Linked DNA regions of Homo sapiens: region 2 is linked to region 1. Evidence: promoter capture Hi-C in 16 types of primary human blood cells and fetal thymus (Javierre and others, 2016). All regions are on one chromosome and are shown on one strand. The core of a region is centred on a gene start or on the middle of the fragment in contact, and the rest is flanking DNA. Distances in the headings are between cores, read along the strand shown.

The links. The method cuts DNA at HindIII sites, captures the fragments that hold promoters and counts their contacts. A CHiCAGO score of 5 or more calls a contact.
Region 2: a fragment that was not itself captured here is called in contact with the fragment with the promoter of INSL4 in region 1 in 2 of 17 cell types (naive B cells and naive CD4 T cells); the score reaches 5.5 in naive B cells.

What each region holds. Positions count from the first base shown.
Region 1 is chr9:5,229,048-5,233,361 of GRCh38, reverse strand. INSL4 (insulin like 4) reads right to left here and starts at 1,943. Exons shown (of 2, transcript NM_002195.2): 1 at 1,643-1,943. The coding sequence starts at 1,838. RefSeq lists a promoter at 1,849-2,666. The HindIII fragment of the contact is 5,637 bases long and covers 1-2,314 here.
Region 2 is chr9:5,749,452-5,753,765 of GRCh38, reverse strand. RIC1 (RIC1 partner of RAB6A GEF complex) reads right to left here. Exons shown (of 26, transcript NM_020829.4): 13 at 528-566; 14 at 120-230. Among named protein-coding and RNA genes, the nearest start is that of ERMP1, 82 kb to the left of the region's middle. The HindIII fragment of the contact is 1,055 bases long and covers 1,787-2,841 here.

The sequences.
Region 1 (4,314 bases), core at 694-3,193:
CTGTTTTGATTGATAACCTCAATGCATTATGTACTGGATAGCAATAGGGAATTTTTTTTATAATCACAAGTTATTCTAATAGAAAGATTCAGATATTCAAATCTGATCCACATAAATCTATACATCTATATCAGTGGATCTTAGCTAAAAGGCTGAGAAGCAACATACATCTATATGTGTCGACACCAAATGTTAACATTTGTTATCCATGAATACTTTCCATTTTTCTTGTTAAATTTATCTATATTTGTCAAAGTATTTAAATGAGGATTTTCACTTATTTACTGAAAAAAAGTGAAATTTAAATAGAAATTATAGTACAGCATGCTCTTCCTTAGTTTGCATTAGAAATTGTTTGGACTTTGTGGTATTCTTCCCTTATTTTATAGTAAAATGAAACAAGCTCTGACTAATAATGTAAAAAAAGGAAATAACTTTGAAATCGTTATATAAATCACACAAAATCCAAGTGCATTCACTGTGCACGATAACTTTAAACAGAGTCATTTAATGATTTAATGAAGTGTATGCATATGGGTTACAAGAAGCAGTTCTGGAGTCACACATTGCTGGTTCAAAACCTGTGTCATTTGTATTAAATGTAAAACAATGTTTAGTAATTTAACTTAGCTTTTCAGAACTTAATACGACCTATTAGACAGAATATAGTAGCCTCTATCTCTTTTCGAAACTGCCCCTGCTAGTTTTAACTTAGCTGGCAATTTATCTTTATGAATACCTTGTTACTTGGTAAAGTTTGAAAACTATCCTGGTATTGAACTTTCCTCAATTCTGAAATCTTGCTTTTAAAGAAAATGCTTTGCAGTCTCAAATGTTGAAAACACTAATCAAATCAGCTATGATGGTCTGAACAGTGAAATTCCCTTGTCTCTGGTCCCCTTCAATTTCCCCTCTAGTCATCCAGGCCACTTTCTTTCTCTTCATCTCATCTCTCTCAACACACTACAAGAGTAGATTCAAAGAAATGGGAGGCAAGGTGCTCTGTTGGTGTGCATTAAAAAAAACTTTTTTGTAAGAGGACGTTTTTGGTGACATAGACCACTGCCCAGCTTAATGACAAAGGATGAGAGTTATTAAATCTAAGCCCCCTTTATCTCACATTCCAGGAACCTAACAGAGGTCTCAGTGTGCTGCCCCTAGGCCAATAGGTGCATAAACAGAAATGATAATCAGCTCATCACCTCACTGTTTGTCCCCTTTCTTCTTAATTGAAGATGCCTGGCCCAGGCATCTCATTGCAATCACACCTGTTTTCTGGCCTGCCCAGCTTTCCTGGGGGTCTGGGAGTACACCTCACCTCCTGCTGGTGTTTGAGAATAGTCACCTTCTCTGAGGATTCCCTGTTTTCTCCACCCTGTATCTCTGGCTGCCAGGTGGGAAAGGCACCAAGAGCCTCCAAGGTGAGGCTGTTCTTCTGTTTTTCCTGCAGCTTCTCCTCTACCCCCAACTTCCCATGAGATTTCTGGTGAGACCCTTTTAATAAAAGCACATTACAATGAAAAACCACAAACTTGTAGGCACTAGCCACAGTAGAGTCTGAGTTGACTACAGGCAGTCAATGAGATCTGGAGCCTGTTTTTTCAGGCCTCATTCTGATTGTTTGGTAGTCCAGGGCTCTCACCTTTGGGACGTCCAGATTCCAGCAGCCACCCTCCTGGGGTGGTGGTGAATGTCTTCTCAGGCATGGGGCAATATGACAGCAAGTGTTTTCCAAATCGGGGACCACATCCCCTCAGCTCTGCTGCTAGGCTTTCTCTAAGGAGTTGGCTCAGCAGCAGCCAGATTGCTGGCAGATAGGACCGGAACAGGCTGGCCATCCTGGACCTGAACTCTCCTGTTCTGGGTGTTCTCAGCCTTTCTTTAGAGACTTGCTGCTGTAGCCTACCAGACTGTGCTGGTGTGTCCCTTCTGGGCTCCAGACTGCTTTCTGCATGCCTTCATCAGGCATTTATTTGCTTAGGGCTATTACTCAGCTTTTGCGTCAATGGTGTCAGTTCCACCCCTTTCCCACCCACCTACAAGGAACTTTCTCCCTCAGTTCTTATTTAGTCTCCCTACTTGCCCTACCCACACTCTCATATCCCTCTTTGCTCCCAATGTGCTGCTGCACTTTGCTTGTTTTGAATTTGGTTGTTCTACTTCTTTTTCTTAACTTTCCTCCTGTAATACTATTTTTATGCTTACTAAAATAATGGTAATTTTTAATGTCCTTTGCTTAGATGAAATAAAAATAGAACTGACCTGTAAGCTCATTGGCTAGAAATTATCTTAGTTAACATTTGGCATATAAGCTTTTAATTGCGGGGGTCTGTCCCACAGACCCTGACCCAACGACGGATGAATAACATACACTGACACAGATAGTTTGCCTGTCAGTCCAGCTGAGGGTCCGGGCCACCTACAGACACCAAGGAGGGTGCTGTAAAGAGTTGCAGCCGTGGCCCCGATCAGCCAGCAAAGCTCACATTTATTCAGCATAGATTAAATGACGAAGGTCTTGAGTAAACACCACTAGAAGGTAATTGACATTGCCAACCTCCCGAGTAGAGAGCAATTATGCACCCGCGGTTGATCAAAGATTAGTCTTAGGACCACATGAGTAAACAAACTAGATAAACTACATTCATTTGTATCTGTGCCTTAAGCTATTAACTCAAGGTAAGGATTAGGCTGCCTTCAGCCTGATCTATTACTGGAGCTTATACAAACCCCTCCGGCGTTTCAAAAAGGTTTGCGTCTTTTTCTTATAACTATCTGAAAAAATTTTCCCACCAGCCTGACTGAACTCTCACATCTCCCCCCTTTCTGTTCTTTGCATCGGGTTCTGTTGACTTAAGAGTACAGATGTGTGCAGCAACAGGTTTGTTAGGTTTTGCTTTTATTCCGGCTTTGCATCATAGAATTAGCAAATAACGTAAGACAATCATGAGTATAATTAGTAACATTCCTTTCCAGTCAAAGTGTGACCCCCAGGATCGGGGGTATAACCAGGAGAAATGATCTTGCACACCTTTCCATATGGCTGTTTGTTGAGTATGTAGATCTATCATGTGAAGGGATTCTAAAATTTTAGTTTTAAGTTGCTTTACGTCTGCTGTTAAATTGTCATGAAAGTTTCCCCAGAGGTGTTGTTTCACCTCATCCCAACTATGTATTGATTGATTCCAAGGTAAAAATGTGACACAGATATGTTTATGCTCCCAGTCACAGTTTAATTGCTATCAGAATGCTAGGGCATCTTGTCGCTCCCCCACAAATTCCAAGGCAGCCTCGAGGGCTTGCAGACGTGCAAGAATCTCTTGATCTATACCCTGCTGTAAGAGAAGTTCATTAGACACATTTCTGGCCAAATTGTCTACAAAAGCAGCTGTTTGCACTGATTCGGTAGTAGATGCTATAGCCACACTAGCAGTTGCTAGGATGACTATGGCTGAGACTATAAAGGTTATAAGTGTGCCTATAAATCTTTTGGGTCTGACCTGGGATAGGGCACATTCTAAGGTGGCAAAGGAAGAGGAACCTTGCCAATAGTGTGTCAAATTGACGGGTAGGAATGCCTCAGATTGTCTCCTTAATACCATGACACTAGTAGTATTTAAATTAGATATATTGTAATTAGTGGTACATGAGGCAAACAAAGCCTGTCCTTGCACCCGGGTCACAAACATGGAATTTTGGGTTGTAATAGAAATATTAGTTCCCATAAGGAAAACATATGGATGGAGTTGCAAATTAGGGACTGATCAGTGTGATTATGAATAAAGGTTATAGTATAGTTGTTACTGTAATTATGATATGTCCCATGCCAGGTGTCAAGGGAGGTGCTAAGATGTCCCAGGCAACATAAAGTGTCTTGGGGAGGCATCAACTTTACTCGGGGTCTGGGATATCCTATCCTCCCATCGGCCCAAATCATAAGGGAATGGGACGAGGCTATGAAACTGTGATCGATGCCATGATGGATGAGGATATCAGTAAGGCTGCCCTACAAATGGCCACAGGGGCTCCAGTCTAGGATGTTATAATTGCCTAACTGGAGGCTATGAGCTTATTCCCCATGACAGATCTCCCAGCTAAAGTGGAATCCGTTATTTTTCCGGCTTTGTTCTTTAGCACAGGAAGGAATGTTTGGGAAAGCAGACTTGATTTCCGTTTTGAGGCTACCTGCAGCTAAGACTGTTAAGGCACTTCTTTTGCCATGATGTAGCCATAATTGTGTTTCAGTAGGTGCACACTAAGGGTTAGAACATTTATAATTTACACACAATGGGAGGATAGTAGAGTGATCTGTAG
Region 2 (4,314 bases), core at 1,065-3,564, 520 kb before region 1:
TGATTTTCCTTATTTTTAATAAGTAACCAAAATTACTTAGTGATAAACTTTATAGCTATTTCATATTGTAGTTCTCTTATACTTTGAGAAATAGGTTTTTAATCTCAAAAAAGACTAACCTGGGTAATGTTTCCAAAAAGTTTCCATTTTTTGGTGAGTAAAGAGTAATGTGCAAAACCAAACTTGCCAACCACAGCAATATTCTGTCCAAGCTTATCAATAGCTGAAAACTGTTTAAAAAAAAAAATAAGAACTTTTCCTTGCAAACCTATATACTTTATTAGGCATAAAGAGCTTAGTATTGTGTCAGGCAAACAGACAATTAATAAATGTTTGCTAATTAAATATTTTAAAGTCCAAATATTCAGTTATATCTGACAAAATTATAGATGTTAATATACTAGCAATGTTACAATAGATCAAGAGTTTTATTTTTCTCAGTACACCCACTGAAGGGCTCTTCCCAGAATGCCTCTTGCAGCAAATGCTAGTCAACAAAAGTTAACACCAACAAAATAACAACTCACCCGTATAGGCCAATTGCTCTCTAGATAGGTGCTGGAAATCTATAGAAAATAACACATCAGATTGGTAAAACTTATGAAATATATTTAAACTTAAAGCATTAAGTTATCACACTATGAGATTCATCTTGCCGAACAATGTTTAAGGTGCCCCCTAGTTAGTAGCAGAGCACTTGGAATTTACCATTTGTATATGAATCAATGTTTTACATCTTACGTTATTTCATGTTTCTAGGCACCAGGCTTTCCTCTCCCTGCCCCTTGCCCCTTATGTTTCTGTTTGTTTTAAATATTGAATTCAATAAATACAGACTGACAAGAGATTTTCAGAGAAGGCACCTGTGAGGGCAGCTATGAATTGTGCAGATGAACAGTTTGGGTTTGCTGATATAAACCATTCCAAAACAACCTAATCTAATACAATTACAGCCTCAGAAAAAGTTCTGGTTTTTAATGGAAATATTTTTATTACTTTTACACTTTTCTGATTAAAACAGCAATGCTTAGGCCAGGTGTGGTTGCTCACGCCTGTAATCCCAGCACTTTGGGAGGCCGAGGCAGGTGGATCACCTGAGGTCAGGAGTTTGTGACCAGCCTGACCAACATGGCGAAATCTCGTCTCTATTAAAAATACGAAACCGTGCATGATGGTGCATGCCTGTAGTCCCAACTACATGGGAGACTGAGGCAGGACAATCGCTTGAACCCGGGAGGCAGAGGTTGCAGTGAGCCAGGATCGCGCCACTGCACTCCAGCCTGGGGAATAAGAGCGAAACTCCGTCTCCAAAAAAAAAAAACAAAAAAAAACTTATGAAATTATGCAATATAAAAATTGACAAAATGAAATTCTCTGTTACTTAGGTACAACCACTGGTTAGCTTTTATTCTATCTCTAAACAAACATATATATATGTACATGAAAGAGTGTATGTAAGCTATTATTTTTCTATTGGGGTATTTGACTTACTTATCTACAAGAACTTTTAATATATTACAAATATTAACTCTATCTGCAAGAAAAGGCGTTCATTTTTCCACGTTGTCTGTCTTACATCTTTGAACATGGTGTCTTTGTATCACCCTAACAACACCTTTCAATTTAAATAATTGACATGGGATATCAATGTAGATAAAGTAAATTTTCGTTTTAATGAGATTGATCTCTCTAGCCTGCTGATTAGTTTTCATGAGCACATGTTGGAGTGGGGCGAGAATTAACAGAACTGAACAAAGAGTCTTCTGTTCTTGGAATAAGAAAAGCTTCGATCTGTTCAAATTTATTTTTCATTTTACTCTAAGAAAAGTTGTCACATATTGAAAAACTAAATGCCAAATTAAAAAGCTAAGTCAACAGCAATCAAACCCAGTAAGATTGTGTATGTAATGTGAAGACAGAAAATTAAGTAAAAGCAATATGCTCTAAACATCTGTATTAACCTTGATAAAATTTGATAAAACTGTTTGTTATACTTCACTTATTATCAAGTGCTTTACTTACTAATTATTTGTTATACTTATTAAGTTGACTTAAGTCAACTTAAAATCCAACTAAATCAATAGCTTAATAAATTAATAAAATTCACTATGGGCCAGGCACCGTGGCTCATGCCTGTAATCCCAGCACTTTGGGAGGCTGAGGCAGGCAGATTGCCTGAGGTCAGGAGTTTGAGACCAGCCCGGCCAGCATGGTGAAACCCGTCTCTACTAAAAATACAAAAATTAGCCAGGCGTGATGGCAGGTGCCGGCAATCCCAGCTACTCGGGAAGCTGACGCAGGAGAATCACCTGAACCCTGGAGGCGGAGGTTGCAGTGAGCCGAGATTGCACCACTGCACTCCAGCCTGGGCAACAGAGTGAGACTCTGTCTCCCTGCCCCCCAGACCCCCAAAAAGATCACTATGATGGGTAAAATTAGTTCAGAATAATGGTACACTTAAGGTAATGATTGGGTGGTGAAATAAAACTTGAAAGCATTTTCAACTTTTTTCAGCAGTCACTCACAGCAGGAGGATGTACCTGAGTATAACTGTGTCAATCATCCATTGCACTAAAAGGAATCCTTACCTCCCTCAAACCTTGGTGTTTCATGAGTACTTATGAAACGTGTGGGTGGGTAATGGAGGAGCTGGGATCTTACTGCAAAAGTGGATTCTAACACAAAGAGTTTCTAATAATGGGAACCAAAGTTAAATCTTATCAAATGATCACACTATGATCAATATCTATAAAACAATTTATTCTTTATTCTACAAAAATCTATGAAGTGCCACAAATGATGTATTTTAAAAACTTAAGGTGTTAAGTTTAGAATGAAGCTTTATTTTTCATGCAGTTTGTGTCTAAAGATACTATGTATTTTCTCCAGTAGGTCAACTTTATTGATCTATGTGTCATCTGAACTCTGAGCTCTACCTCTAATACTTGATAAAAGGGAATGGCAGAAGTAAGGAAGAGGCAGCTGATCAGTGACAAAAAAAACAGGTCATGAAAGCACACTCAGGGCACTGAAGTCATGCCACATCACTGGAAAACTGAGTGCTAAGGTACAGAAACTCTACCCTTATCTTAGAATGTTTCAGTTTCTCTTAAAGAAACTGAATCCGCCCTCATTTGTTATTATGATTTTTAAATTTTAAAGTAACTCTGCTAAAACTCTGTCTCCTGCCTAGATTAGTTTTGTCTATAACTAGTGAGACTGTGGGAGCCATCCTCCTAGCAGATTTGTTCTGTGCCAAATACCTGGTACACTTGATACATACTGTAGGAAGACAGTAAATAATTTATGAATGAAAGAGCCTTTAAATACTCTCTGTTGAAATCCCTAACATAGTGCCTGATACCCTGTAGGTGCTTATCTTCCACATTTTGTGAAGCTTATTCTTTCTAAATAGCCAAGCTAACCATCAAACCAACACCCTCAGAACAATGGATAATAGATTTATGTACCTTTCAGAAGTAAATGCTTACATCATACAAAATACTGAGCATTAAAATAAATGGCAGTCTTAGAAGGAACATGGCCTAAAACTAGAAACTTTGTGTTCTGTAAAATTTCAATAGTTTGTGCCCCATATGTCAACAAATGACTTCAAAAGTTTTAAAACTTATAGGTAAGAAAAAACTTTTTAAAAAGCACCTTGGCTGGTGCTTGCTGGTGCTTGCTTTGGCTGGGTGCGGTGGCTCACGCCTGTAATCCCAGTACTTTGGGAGGCTGAGGCAGGTGGATCACAAGGTCAGGAGTTTGAGACCAGCCTGGCCAACATGGTGAAACCCCGTCTCTACTAAAAATACAAAAATTAGCCGGGCATGGTGGCAGGTGCCTGTAATCCCAGCTACTTGGGAGGCTGAGACAGCAGAATCGCTTGAACCCTGGAGGTGGAGGTTGCAGTGAGCTGAGATCACGCCACTGCACTCCAGCCTGGGCAACAAAGAACAAAATTCAATCTCAAAAAAAAAAAAAAAAAAAAAAAAAAAAAAGCACCGCCTTTACTGCCAGTTACCAATCCTGCTTCTGACAAGTATGTATTTGTTTTGTTTTAGTTAAAGAAAAATCATAAGTAACATAGAATCTTCCAATCTGGAAGCTAAGGAGTATAAGGTAGCAGGTTTAAGCAAACAAACAAAAAGCTAGTACTCTAAATGAGAAACAGAACAAGCAGCAGAATTAGTTGGAGTTCATCTAAGCTATACAAGAAGCATACATACAACGAATAAATCACGCAAACAAAATCAACTTTGACAGAGGATGTGGTCACTTATCTTAGAAAAAAGGATACTATTGTGGGGCAAA